Regions from separate parts of the Homo sapiens genome. Here region 1 is linked to region 2. Evidence: promoter capture Hi-C in human tissues and cell types (Jung and others, 2019). All regions are on one chromosome and are shown on one strand. The core of a region is centred on a gene start or on the middle of the fragment in contact, and the rest is flanking DNA. Distances in the headings are between cores, read along the strand shown. Region 1 has its middle 82 kb from the start of GAB4. Region 2 holds the start of CCT8L2 (chaperonin containing TCP1 subunit 8 like 2).

Evidence for each region. Contacts are between HindIII fragments. The study calls those that stand out against the background at their distance.
Region 1: a contact is called between a fragment that was not itself captured here and the fragment with the promoter of CCT8L2 in region 2, in 2 of the 25 tissues and cell types used here (dorsolateral prefrontal cortex and mesendoderm cells).

The regions. Positions count from the first base shown.
Region 1 is chr22:16,923,751-16,927,903 of GRCh38, forward strand. It overlaps the pseudogene IGKV3OR22-2. Among named protein-coding and RNA genes, the nearest start is that of GAB4, 82 kb to the right of the region's middle. The HindIII fragment of the contact is 3,294 bases long and covers 1-2,905 here.
Region 2 is chr22:16,590,868-16,594,751 of GRCh38, forward strand. CCT8L2 (chaperonin containing TCP1 subunit 8 like 2) reads right to left here and starts at 1,943. Exons shown (of 1, transcript NM_014406.5): 1 at 1-1,943. The coding sequence starts at 1,683. The coding sequence ends at 10. The HindIII fragment of the contact is 16,456 bases long and covers 1-3,884 here.

The DNA.
Region 1 (4,153 bases), core at 9-2,508, 330 kb after region 2:
ACCAGTGTCCTCTTTGGAGCAGGCTGTTGTGATCCTTATTAATGAACACTAAGGGGCCTTCATTAGGAAAGCTGTAGAGTGGAGCTGCCTTGGGGGATACTGAGGTCCTCAGCTGCCAAGGCTGCAGGGTCCTCCACAGAGCAGGCCATGGGGACTGCAGTGGCCCTGCCTCCTAGCTGGTAACACTTGCCTCCTGCTTCTTTGCCCCTGGCTGTCTCAAAACTCTCAGATGTGCCATCTCCCAGCCATCCTTCCTGCATGGTTACTCTGCGCTTTTCTCCCGTTGTGTTCCTGCACTTCTTTAATTGGATTCTGGAGCACTCCAAGGGCTGTTTTCTTTCTTGGATAGCTGTCTAATTGTTGGTTTTGCTATTTTGTGTGTGTTTATGTGTTTTTTTGGGGGGGAGTCCAGATGAAGGCTGGAATCAATGTGAAGCCACTTTTCTTAGGCATTATTAATCTTATTAATCTTATCATGAGTGCAGAGCCCTCATGAGCTAATCACCAAAGAATCCAATGTCTAATACTGTTGTCTTGAAAATTCAGTTTCAACAGGAACTTTGGAGGGGACACAATCAGACCATAGCAGTGATTTAGTAGAAAAAAATATGATAACTGAATTATATTGGATCAATTGGATATCCATATGATGTCAAAATGAATCTTATCCTGCACATTTTACCTCTATATTGATACGCACATTAATTGTAAATCATAACCTGAAATGTAAAGTCAAAAGTATAAAGCTTTTAAACAATACCATAAAAAGATATTTCATGACTATACATGTGAAAAAAGATTTTGTATAGAAGATACACAAAGCACTAAGCACAAAAAAATTAATCAATTAGTTCTCCACTGAAAACTCAAAAAGCCAGAATGGTTTCTTTCTGCCAAATGACTACATCACCTCTCCATCAAGGGTTCACATCCAGGCTGAACCTGAGATGGCTGAAATGACAGAAGTAGAATTTATAATAGGAATAGGAATAAAATTCATTGAGTTGCAGGAGTATGTTGTAACCCAATTCAAGAAAGCTAAAAATAATGAAAAAAATTTTCAGCAGATGACAGACAAAATAGCCAGTACAGAGAAGCACATAACCAGCATGTTAGATCTGAAAAACACACTACAGGAATTTCATAGTGCAATCACAAGTATTAATAGCACAACATACCATGTGGGGAAAAGAATCTCAGAGCTTGAACACTGACTAAGATAAGGTGGGCAGGCAGGAATATAGAAAAAATAATGAAAAGGAATAAACAAAACCTCCAAGAGATATTGGATTATGTAAAGAGACCCATTCTACAGCTGATTGGTATACCTGAAAGGGATGGGGCAAATGAAACAAACCTGGAGAATATATTTCAGGATATCATCTATGAAAAATTCCCCCACCTATCTAAAGAGGCCAACATTCAAATTCAGGAAATTTGGAGAACACAAAAGTAAGATAATCTACAAGAAGATCATTTCCAAGACACATAATTGTCAGATTCTCCAAGGTGAGAAGGAAAGCAAAAATTTTAAAGGCAGCTGGAGAGAAAGGCCAGCTCACCTACAAACAAAAGCCCATCAGACTAACGTGGATCTCTAAGCAGAAATCCTACAAACTGGAAGAAATTGTGGGTCAATATTCAACATCCTAAAGGAAAAGAAACTCCAACCCAGGATGTTATGTCCAGCCAAACTAAGCTTCATAAGTGAAGAGAAATAAGATCCTTTTAAGACAAGCAAATGCTGAGGGAATACGTCACCACCAAACCTGCCTTACAAGAGCTCCTGAAGGAAGCACTAAGTATGGAAAGGAAAGACCATTACCAGCCACTACAAAAACACACTGAAGTACTCAAACAAGTGATGCAATAAAGCAATCACATAAACAAGTCTGTGAAATAACCAGCTGACATCATGATGACACGATCAAACCCACACATATTCATGCTCACCTTAGAAGTAAATGGGCTAAGTGCTTCAATTAAAAGACACGGAATGGAAAGTTGGAAAAAGAACTAAGACTCATTGGTATGCTGTTTTCAAGAGCCCCATCTCACATGCAATGATACACATATGCTCAAAATAAAGGGATGGAGAAAAACCTACCAAGGAAATGGAAAACAGAAAAAAGAAGGGGTTACCGTTTCTGACAAAACAGACTTTAAACAAACAAAGATTAAAAAAAAAGACAAAGAAGTGAAAAATCTTAGGCTTCAGGCAGCTGATGGTGATAGTAAAGTCTGTCTCCAATCCATGACCACTAAACCCCAGGATGCTAGTGGCCCTGTTGGATGTGCCTTAGATGAGGAACCAGGGAGCTTTTCCAGGTTTCTGCTGATACCAGGCTAAGGAGCTGCCAATGCTCTGACTGCACACACAGATGAGAGAGTCTCTTTTCCCTGAAGACAAAGACAAGGAGTCAAGAGACTGCATCAACATAACTTCTCTGGAGGGACATGAGATTAGAATAAAACAGGAAAATCACTCATATAAACTGCATCAAGCCCACAATCTTCATAGTATAACCACAGTCACTAATCTACACTGAATTATAATTACTGTTCTTGCTCAGCAGGGATGCCAGGTCAGAGGAACCAACAAGGTTGAGAGAGTTTCAGTGTAGAGCCATCTCCTCTTCCCCTCACCTGGGAGCTAGAGTACAGGAGGCAGAGAAGCTGAGATGGGGCTTCCATGAGTCTCTCTTGTCCTAACTGAGCAGTGCTTGCCCTGAGTTCTGACCCAGGTATTGATATGGGCTCTGAACAGCAGCATGGCTGGGAGGAACATGCAAAGAAGCATTGGACTTGCTGTGCTTCTAGCTGCAGAGACCACCTGCCTCCTCTTTTTTTCATTGAGAAGCCCCTGCCCAAGTGGTCAGGTCAGAAAGGCTATTGGCTCAGCATGAGGGTAGACCTTCTCCCTTCCGGACTCCCAATTTAATCCCCGTCCTACCTCACCAGTTACCTAGGCTCAGACAGATGGTGTTTAGTACAAACCTCTTGAAAGAAAAAATAAAAATCTATGGTTTCTTTTTCTCTTTCTTCCCCTAACATGCCCAGTCATCTTCCTGGCTGCATGATTGTACCTGGCTGAAGTCATTGATCAGAAATTCATCTTCTATACACACTTTTCCTTTGCAGCTTAGACATCATTTCTATGAGCCCTGAACATTTTCCATTATTTGGAAGAACCAGTAAAGGACATCACTTTGTTAGGCCAAGCACTGTGGGTGCATGAGTGACCACAGCTACAAAGATAAGCAGACTCCAGGCTCAGACTCATCATTGTGTGATTCCACTCTCTGCAGACAGACGATGGTGCTGTCCAGCTGGCCAGGAAAAATTGGGGGTGGTATCTTCTCTTCTCTAAAGCACTCCATTCTGCACAACACAACCATTCACCCACGCTCAGACTCTTTTCCCTTTAACAGTTTTGAAAACCTCTGTTCACACCACTGATGGAAACAAGAATCTTGTCTGGGGTTTTCTTGTGTTCCTCAGAATTGTGAACATGTAGTGGTGAGCGAGGTTCCCCTGAACAGGCTGAGAAGCTCTTTAAATTACATTCCATTTAAAATTATTAATCACAATTGTGGAAATTTGTTTTCTTTCTTATCTAAACATCTAAGTAATGTACTCAGTTTTCTTTCTTAGCTAACAAAACTGAAGTATCAATTATTTTACTCCTGATATAATCTGATATGTTTTGTCTTTTAAATGGAAAGTCAATTTTACTGTAGTTATGACTTGTGTAGTACATAGATCATTATATATGTAATATAATCAATTGAGTACAATAATGTTATATTGCTATTATATGTTTTCAGGAAATAGAACCTAAAATATCACTTGAGAAAAGGATATAAGTTCTGAGAATTATAATTTTCCTTATTTCCTAAAGACTGAGTACGAAAAAGGAATAAAAAAAGGAAAAGGAAACATTTCCATATAACAAGCAGTTTAATCCACTCTTTACAATCTTCCCAGAATTCTAGACATACAGACTGCTGGGAAGAGTGCCCCCCACTGAGCACCTACTGTTTGCCAGGTACTCCCAATACACTGGGATACAGCAATGCAAATAATAGACAATGGCCCCGATCCCATGAAGCTTAAATTCATCTAAAGGGAGTCAGCATATAAAGTGTAAAAT
Region 2 (3,884 bases), core at 693-3,192:
AGGGTATCACTAGTTATTCAATCCAAGGATTTTTTTTGTTTCCACAGGAGGTGGGTGTTTCTTTGTCTTCTTAGAGTCAGGATTCCAGATCTCCTGATGTGTGGGACTTTTCTTGGCCACTACGATTTCATCTACAGTCACGAGCTGTAGCACCACCTCAGCCACTGCTCGAAATCCTTGGGCTTTGACTATTAGGGTGTCCCACACCCCTTCCTGGGCCACATTTATTATCCCTTCAGTTCCCACACCCATTAGGAGGTTCCCACCTTGGTGCACTCCACTCATTTCTGCCATCACGTCTGAGACAGCTAAGCCTGCATTCTCTGCCAAAGTTTTAGGAAGATACTTCAGGGCCCAGGCAAATGCTAGGAATGCAGGCCCACTGGGCCCTTCCAATCTGCTTCCTTTATCAGAAAGCATTTTTGCCAAAGCCATTTCTGTGGCCCCAGCTCCTGGAATCAGTCTGGGATCTTGACATAGCTGGAAATAGGCATCAATGCCGTGGTAGACGGCCTGCTCTGCACTCCGCAGCCCCTGGGTGGTGGCTCCCCTGAGAACCACAGTGAGGGCAGGTGTGCCTGTACATTCCCATTCAAATACCACAGCCAAACCATCTCCCAGCTCCTGCCTGTAAACCCTCTGGCACTTGCCTGGCCTCTGGGGAGGGAGCAGACGAGGCAGCAGAGGTGTGTCCAACACCTCACTCAGGTAAATGATCTCCATCCAAGACCTAGCTTGAATCACCACGATGCCATACTTGTCCGCCAGTGTGAGGGTCTCCTCGTCGACCTCCCCCAACACCACTGCCACATTAATTCCTGCAGCTGCTAGCTGGCCTACTTGCTTTTCTAGTAATTGATCGCTTCCTTTACTAAATTGAGCTAGATCAGCAGGACTAGAAAGACGGGCCGTTGCTGGTGCATTTGGATGGGCAGGACCAAAGGGGCAAGCAAAGAGAGCCACCCTGGCACCACTTAACACTGTGGCCATTTGCCCACAGAGCTTCCCAGATATTGCTAACCCCGGGAGGAGGCAGGAATCCTCCAGTGTCCCCCCGGGCAGCGCGCACACCCCAACACGCTCAGGCTTGAAGCTGCCGTCTAGTTCCTTGATAGCCCAGCAGGCGTGGGCCACCAGCTTGGTCAAGTGGTCCATGGGGGACAGGGTGTGGGTATTCATCACAGAATGGAGGGCCCAGGATGGATCTTCCAAAGGCCCCAGAGATTGGATGGCCAGGGAGGGCAGTGTGGCCAGGACCTCTGCAGTGGCCGTGGCGTAGGCCTCCCGGAGCTGCGGGCGAGGCAGGCCAGCCTTCAGCAGCTGCTCTGCCTGTTCCAGCAAGGCTTCCGTCAGCAGAACCACGAAGGCTGTGCCGTCCCCACTATTCTCTGCCTGGGTTTGTCCTGCTTCCCGGAGGAGCCATGCTGCTGGGTGCTCCAGCTCCAGGGCCCTGAGGATGGCAGTGGCACACCCCGTGCACACTGTTTCTCCTTTCATGGTCACCAGGAACTTCTGCCGGCCGTGGGGGCCATAGCAAGGCCGGATGACACTGGCCAGGGTCTGGACTGCAGCCAAGCTGCTCAGCAGGTGGGGCTCCTCCTCTTCTGGACTCCTCGGGCTCTCCCTTGGGTTCAGTGCCAGCCGCTGGGGCAGCTCCAGGGCTGAAGGGACTGTGCTGTCCATGGCCCGCAGAGAGAGGAGAGGCCACCGTGGGTTGCAGAGATGCTCTAGAAACAGCAGCTGGGGCACTCCTGACACCGATCGTTGAAAGTACTCAAGAGGTCAGTGGAAGCAAGGAGCCAAATGCCCATTGATTGGTATCTGAAGACATCAGCACGGACCAGCACTCCACTGTGGGTCCAAGGATGAGCTCCAAAGAGCCCAGTCCTAAAGCCACCCCAGGGTTGATTCTGTAAAGGAACTGGGTCTTGGGGCCTCTCAACCTTGGTGGCTGAAATGGGATCTTTAACTGATGAAGTCACAAAGTGGAAAATGGAACCAGGATAGAGAATGAGGTCACAGAAGGCTGGTTAGAACTGAGGAGGCCCTACCAGCAGGCAAAAGTCAGGCCTTGTCCAGCAATGGAGGTACATGCACCTCTGCACCAGGTTTGAGACTTGTTTAAACGTAAGAGACAATGAGGAGGAGATCAAGTGAAAAACTACCCATTTCACCCTATCTGGAGTGCAGGGGCATAACCATGGTTCACTGCAGGCCCAGCTCCCTGGTCTCAAGCAGTCCTCCTGCTCAGGTTCCCAAGTACCTGGGACTACAGGCACACACCACCACACCTAGCTAGTTTTTTTATTTTTTGTAGAGACAGTGTTTCTGTCTGTTGTCCAGGCAGGTCTCGAATTCCTAGCCTCAAGAGAGCCTTCCACCTTGGCCTCCCAAAGTGCTAGGACTACAGGTGTGAGCCACCACCTCACCCACCCTTTTTTTTTTTTTTTTTTTGAGACAGAGTCACACTCTGTTGCCCAGGCTGGAGTGCAGTGGTACAATCTTAGCTCACTGCAACCTCCACCTCCCAGGTTCAAGCAGTTCTCCTGCCTCAGCCTCTCAGTAGCTGGGATTACAGGTGCCAGCCACCACGCCCGGCTAATTTTTTATATTTTTAGTAGAGATAGGGGGATTTCACCATGTTGGCCATGGTTGGCCAGGTTAGTCTCAAACTCCTGGCCTCAAGTGATCCGCCCACCTCGGCCTCCAAAAGTGCTGGGATTACAGGTGTGAGCCACTGCACCTGGCCTTTTTTTTTTATTTGAGAAGGAACTGAGAGATGATGTCTGTGTTTTGTTTTGTTTTGGTGTTACTTTCTCTTGCAGTACTGTGTAATATTAGCCATGTTTTGCTGTCTGCCTTTGACTTTTTGGGTATCTTATCAGTTTGTGCTTGTGTATCAGGTTTCTTAGGGTGTCTGTTGGTCTTTCAGGGTGCAGGTGTGGGAGGCTGCACAGCGTGCATGCCTGTGCCACGACTCCCAACTCTGCCTCCCTGGCAGAGGCAGGGCAAGACAAGTGGGGAAGGATGCTGACAGCTCACAGACAAATAGAAGTGAACCCAGAGGGGTGAAAAGCAACCAGCCTCCCAGCGGTCAGGGAGGTAGAAGCCTAAATGGGGTCCTGAGATTTAAATGCGAATCGCCTTCCCATCCTAACCTTCAATGCTTACAATTTAAGTCTCTTTTTTTCATTCTCTCTCCTTTCCTCACTTGTCTCCTCTTTCCTCCTATAGAGCCTACTCGGGTAATGATGCTTCTGCTTTAGTTTAACACATATTTAGTCTGGGCGTGGTGGCTCATGCATGTAATCCCTGCACGTTGGGAGGCTGAGGCGGGAGGATTGCTTAAGCTCAGGAGGTTGAGGCTTCAGTGAGCCATGATTGCACCACTGCATTCCAGCTAGGGCAACAGAGTGAGACTTGTCTCAAAAAAAATAGGGGAAAGGTCATTTGGAATCCTAGTCCAGAGATAACCATTGTTTACAACTTGATGAACATTACTACTTTGCACATATTATATGCATACATAATTATAGATTTACACCATTTTACATAAGATTATGATACATATATGCTATTCTGTGATCATTTCCCCCTCAACATTATCTTGGCTCAGAGAAATGTTTCTTTTTTTGTTTGGACATGGAGTTTCGGAGTTTCGCTCTTGTCGCCCAGGCTGGAGTACAATGGCGCAATCTCGGCTCACCCTCGGCTCACCACAGCCTCTGCCTCCCGGGTTCAAGCAATTCTCTTGCCTCAGCCTCCTGAGTAGCTGGGACTGAGTAGCCATGTGCCACCATGCCCGGCTAATTTTGTGTTTTTAGTAGAGACAGGGTTTCTCCATGTTAGTCAGGCTGGTCTCAAACTCCTGACCTCAGGGGATC